2 separate regions of the Homo sapiens genome follow, and region 2 is linked to region 1. The links are contacts of gene promoters, found by promoter capture Hi-C in human tissues and cell types (Jung and others, 2019). All regions are on one chromosome and are shown on one strand. Each heading gives the region's core, a stretch centred on a gene start or on the middle of the fragment in contact. The rest is flanking DNA. Distances are from core to core; before and after follow the strand shown.

Evidence for each region. Contacts are between HindIII fragments. The study calls those that stand out against the background at their distance.
Region 2: a fragment that was not itself captured here is called in contact with the fragment with the promoter of TMEM45B in region 1 in 1 of the 25 tissues and cell types used here (stomach).

The regions. Positions count from the first base shown.
Region 1 is chr11:129,814,267-129,817,265 of GRCh38, reverse strand. It overlaps TMEM45B (transmembrane protein 45B), which reads right to left and starts at 1,418. Exons shown (of 6, transcript NM_138788.5): 1 at 1,368-1,418. It overlaps LOC124902793 (a long non-coding RNA gene), which reads left to right and starts at 2,579. Exons shown (of 2, transcript XR_007062952.1): 1 at 2,579-2,999. The HindIII fragment of the contact is 7,942 bases long and covers 1-2,999 here.
Region 2 is chr11:129,040,491-129,043,489 of GRCh38, reverse strand. ARHGAP32 (Rho GTPase activating protein 32) reads left to right here. Exons shown (of 23, transcript NM_001378024.1): 11 at 2,481-2,562. Among named protein-coding and RNA genes, the nearest start is that of TP53AIP1, 99 kb to the right of the region's middle. The HindIII fragment of the contact is 3,799 bases long and covers 1-2,999 here.

The DNA of each region.
Region 1 (2,999 bases), core at 169-2,668:
TACTGAAGATATTACACATCTGGTTAAAAACAGTACACGTCTCTCATGAACAATAAGCCATCCTTTCTATTAAAATGAGTGTAAAATTGCAGGTAAAATGCTGTAGGCAGGCCTGTTTGGAAGGCTATGCGACCCTAGGAGACAAAAAGGTGCAGGAGGAGGAAAAGGGCAGACACCGCAGAAAGCGGTCGAAGAGAACGTGAAAGAAGTGGCCATTTCTAGCTGGGCGCGGTGGTTCACGCCTGTAATCCCAGCACTTTGGGAGGCTGAGGCGGGTGGATCATGAGGTCAGGAGATCGAGACCATCCTGGCTAACACGGTGAAACCCCGTCTCTACCAAAAAAAAAAAAAATACAAAAAATTAGCCGGGCGTGGTGGCGGGCGCCAGTAGTCCTAGCTACTCGGGAGGCTGAGGCAGGAGAATGGTGTGAACCCGGGAGGTGGAGCTTGCAGTGATCCGAGATTGCGCCACTGCACTCCAGCCTGGGCGACAGAGCGAGACTCCGTCTCAAAAAAAAAAAAAAAAAAAAAAAGAAGTGGCCATTTCTGCAACTTTTAGGAGAGCTACCTGCCCTCAAATTTTGAAAGGGTTTCTATTTCTTAAAGTGCTACGTTTCCCTGGCTGAAACTCACATCTTTCTTCCCTCTAGGGCTGGATCAAAGCTTCAGAGGTTGTTTCTCTGGCCCTAGACAGGGCCACCCCCGCAAATTTCTCCCCCACTGCGCCTGACATCCGCTTCCATCCATGGCTCCATTAACGGAAGCTAAGCACTGGCTCGGGGGACTTTATCCACCGCCCGGTGTTATTAGATTCCAGGCTTCCTGGCCTCAGGAAAGGATCTGGCTCGTGTATTTGTGTATCGCAGCTAACAAGGAAAGGCAGTCGGTACCAGTGCCCAGAGCTATGTGAGCTGTGACTGGTCACAGCCCAGGAGCCAGATGGCATCCCCGGGGGCGCGCGTCCCCGGACTCACCGGGCAGACGGAGGCCCGGGGCTTCACACCTTCCCCTCACCGGGCAACGCGGCAGACCTGACTCGCGGGGGACTGAGCAATATTCGTTCCAGGGCCGCGGCCAGCCGGACAGAGGCACTCGGGGGCGGTGGGAGTAGTGTGCGCACCGGTTCCGCAGCCCGGAGGGGGCCCCAGCTGGGCTTCCGCGACACCAGGGCCCTCCATCCCCTCCCGTCCTCCCCTAGCGCAGCCTTCACCCCTGTCCCAGAGCCCCTCCCTGTCCGCGTCCCCTCCCCCGCAGGTCCCCTGCGAGTCGGAACCTCCTCTCCATCACAGCCCCGCTCCTTGGCGGGGCCCCCTCTCCCTTCGAGCCCTCCTCCAGGTTCGAGCCCCCTGCGGGTACGGACGTCTGACCTGTGCCCAGCGCCTCGCAGCCGTCTGCAGCCCGCGCCGCGCGCCAAGTGCGTCCGCCCAGAAGCAGGTGCAGCTCCAGGCCCGCCCCGCCCCGCTGCGCCCCGCCCCGCTCCACTCCGCCAGGCCTGGCAGCCGCCAGCCCCTTTCCACCCTTGACCGCCCTTCCCGGTCCCGGCCAGCGTGCGGGGCATCTGTCGTCAGGTCCGCACTTCCTCCAGGCCTTTGACTTTCCCGTGGAGATGTCTCTGGCCTCAGGAACTCCCTAAGCTGTGTGCTTCAGGAGAGGCTGGTTCCTGAGTCACCCAAGAGGACTGCAACCAACCTGGACCTCCTGAGATGCAAAGAGATCGCAGGGCCTGGGAGGCGGCGAGGACCCTGAGAACAGGCTGTGGCTCCGAAGAGTGTTTGTTACCAAGCCAGGCAACCACTGCGAACACACCGCAGAAACAGCCACGGATCACCGTCCAGCAAAGGAAGAAGGTGCCAACGGTCCATCAGGGACCACAACCCAGTTTTTTTAGTTTAAGTTTGGTGGCTAAGTTTGAGTGTCACATAGTTCATTCATTCCTTCATTCATTCAACAAATCTGCCATGTTCCCATCTGATAACAGATCTGACAGGTGGGCACTGTTCTAGGTGCTGGCGATAGAGCTAAGAAGGAAACAAAGTTCCTGTCCCGGAGAAGGGGGCTACCTGCTGAGGAGAGCATGACTTTCTTTGTGGTATTGTGCTGTGGCAGCAGGGTCCTCTTCTGTAAGCTACTGAGAGGTGAAACCCGCTGGGCTTCTGGGTCGGATGGGGACTTGGAGAACTTTTCTGTCTAGCTAAAGGATTGTAAAAGCATCAATCTGCACTCTGTGTCTAGCTAAAGGTTTGTAAACACACCAATCAGCACTCTGTAAAAATGCACCAATCAGTGCTCTGTGTCCAGCTAATTGGTGGGGACTTGGAGAACTTTTCTCTCTAGCCAAAGGATTGTAAATGCACCAATCAATGCTCTATGTCTAGCTAAAGGTTTGTAAACACATCAATCAGCACTCTGTAAAAACGGACCAATCAGCACTCTGTAAAATGGACCAATCAGCACTCTGTAAAATGGACCAATCAGCGCTCTGTAAAATGGACCAATCAGGAGGATGTGGGCAGGACCAATCAGGAGGATGTGGGCGGGGCCAATGAGGGAATAAAAGCTGGCCATCCGAGCCAGCGGCAGCTGCGTTTGGGTCCCCTTCGATGGTGTTGGGGTTTTGTTGTTTCGCTCTTTGCAATAAATTTTGCTGTTGCTCACCTTTTAGGTCCACACTACCTTTATGAGCTTTAACACTCACAGTGAAGGTCTGCAGGTTCACTCCTGTAAACCAGCGAGACCAGGAAGCCACCACAAGAAACAACTCTGGAGCCGCCACCTTTAAGAGCCATAACACTCACTGTGAAGGTCTGTGGCTTCACTCCTGAAGTCAGCGACACCACGAACCCACAGGGAGGAGCAAACAACTCCAGACGCACCACTTTTAAGAGGTGTAACACTCCCTGCGAAGGTCTGTGGCTTCACTCCTGAGGTCGGCGAAACTACGAACCCGCTGGGAGGAAGGAACAACGCGGATGCGCCACCTTTAAGAGCTGTAACACTCC
Region 2 (2,999 bases), core at 295-2,794, 770 kb after region 1:
GTTTGAACCTGGGAGGCGGAGGTTACAGTGAGCCGAGGTCGCGTCGTTGCACTTCAGACTGGGCAACAAGAACGAACCTCCGTTGCGCAAAAAAAAAAAAAAAAAAAAGAAAAAAAGAAATTTGCATAGAAAGAGAAAATGTTAGAGCCTTTACCACAAGTGAAATTGCAAAGCTTGAACATAATTCAACTCAATCCAGAGAGCACCAAACATCAAATTGGGGCCAAGGTAGAACTTGAACATTTAATTTCCAGCTATGTGACTTGGAGAGCACTATAATTTCAGATGTGGAAACCAGCTGCAGGTAGGCTCTTTTAGAAACATGAATTGTATACTCCATAAATTCTGAAACAAGGCAGATATTTGTACATTGTTACTTGAATTTCAGAAGGGTACCTCAAGGCATCAGGATCTTTTTCAGAGTCACTCTTGAAATAGTTGTATCTTCCCAGCCTTGGTAACCACCTTTTTACAGTTCTCTAGCCTTTGCATTGAAACACACCACTTTGTGGAATGACTTTTAACATTCTATCCGTCATGGCTTAAGATCCTGAAGCAGCTATTTCCAGGGCACCTCCCATCTCCTCGGCATGAGCAGTTTCCCAGTCACTTCTTCATCCCCCCAAGTCCTCTTCATGAGAGTCTCCAGAGCTCATAGCATCAAGGTCTCCATTGCTGGGACTCACACCGGAGACTACATCTGGAAGCTCCACTCCTCCAGCTCTCTCTGCTGGAGACCAAACTGACAGTTTATTGCAAAGACTTGTAAAAACAAAGATTATTTACAAATGCATTTTTGTATACATTTGTTTAATTTACGACCTGAGACTTTTATAATCGCTTTCCAAACCCTTTTATGGAGGGTGGAACACTTACTTGAGGCTACGCTGTTAACCATGTCCCATATCCCCTCTCATAACTGACTTGTGTAAGAAAAAAAAATGAAGATTTTTTTAAGTTGACTCTTACCTGGTTCTAATCAGTCTTGGAAGCATTTCTACTTGTTCCGTAAAATAGGAAGTTGAGTAGAATATATTAAAGAATTTCACCAGTAAAACAAATACCTAAAGCATCATTTTGGAAGGCAGTGCATAGGAATCCCAAATTCACATCTTGTGAACAAAACTGATAGTCTGATAATGATACCTCATCTCTACACAAAATAAACAAAATTAGCCAGGTGAGGTGGTGCATGCCCAGAGTCGCAGCTACTCAGGAGGCTGAGGTGCGAGAATTGTTTGAGCCTGGGGGATCGAGGCTGCAGTGAGCCTAGATTGTGCCACTGCACTCCAGCCTGGGTGACAGAATGAGACCCTGTCTCAAAAACAAAAAACAAAAAAACTGATAATCTGTTAATACCCCTTTTCAGCTCATGATAACTGGTTTATATCTTCACAATTTTAACAACTACCATAGAATATGGATCTAGAAATTGAAATAAGAATGTAGCAAATGAGTATGTGAAAATAATTTCACACAGATGGAAATTATACAGCTCAGAACTTGGTGATGAATCATACCCTTGGAAAACTATTCCATTCTTCCCCAGAGTCTGTCAACAGAGGGATACACAAAGTGATGGAGCTTTCATATTTCAGCTTTAACATCTGCTGCATGGCAGCCCATTTATATTTTTATCTAAGGAAACATCTATAAATATTGATAAAGATTTCCTCTTTGCTTTTGTTTCCAGGCTGTTTATCTCGGTATTTATCCTTTTGGCTATACAGTATCTCTGGATGATCTGGAACTCAGCATTTTCCTAATACGGCTTGTTACAATGCCAAAAGCAATGCCTGCGGTTCTGCTACTAGGTCACTGTGGTGTGTTCCTCAAAGCCAGAGTCTGTTGACACTGCTGAGATTGGCTGTTTTCTTCTCTCTTACTTTCCCTCTTTTCCATGCGCTACTAGTTTTTAAAAGCAGTGAATACCAGGATTTTAAATGAGAGATTATTTTACACATTTATTTTAGTCATGTCTTTTTTTTTTTTTTTTTATGAAACCTGGGAGAGAGTGAAGAGAAAATTCACAAAAAGTTTGAGTTGTGGCTTAGTGTTGATTTAAAAAACCCATAGAGAAGTCAATAAACATAAGTTGGCAACAGAGGTATCAACATAACTGGATTGAGATTTCAGTAAAGCGCATTATTAAATTATAAAATTTTACCTACTTGCATGCATAGCTCATTGTCAGACTAAATATTTTAATTCATGTAAAAAAAGATTGGGAAATTAAAAACTAAAAGGAAAAAAGCAGACTTAGATATTTGGACAAATAAAACAGATAACTTTATGTACTCATAGCAACAGATTGTTTTATTATTTGTTTGTGTAATTGGCATCATCTGTTATTTAGAGTCTTGGAATAATAGAATCATTTGGGAGGGACTGTAGAATACATTACTGGAATTCAGTTGGCAGTGTTCACATAATTGGTCTGTTTGCTGGTTTAGAATCCTTTCTTTGTTGCTTTTCATCAGGTGGGACTCTTCCCTGGACACTGTGTTGAGTTAATTAACCAAAAAGTTCCCCAGTCAGTGACCAACTCAGTGCCAAAACCAGGTGAGTACACTTTTTTCACTAGTGTAGTTATTTTATCAACTGCTTGAAGACACAGATTTTCTGTCAGTCAAGTATTTAGCTTGTTTTGCTAGTTTTGCATTTATAGGCATAATAATTAACATTCTTAATTTTATATGGTTTTGATTTTTAAATGTATTCTTATATCTCTGTTGATCATTTTGAAAAGGTTTACATGCACTCAAATTTTTAGGCAATTGCTCCATTAAGCTTTGTCATTATTTACTTTTATAGTTGCATAATAGCATTGTAACTTAATGAATAAAATGATTTAAAAAATAGGTTTAAAGAACTAACATAGAAATTGTAGGATTAACTGAAAATTAATAAATGAAAAGTAAGTATATTTTAACAGGGCATATGAACATCAAAACTATTTTAAACAGCATTTCTTATTACTTATACAGTATACTTACAGT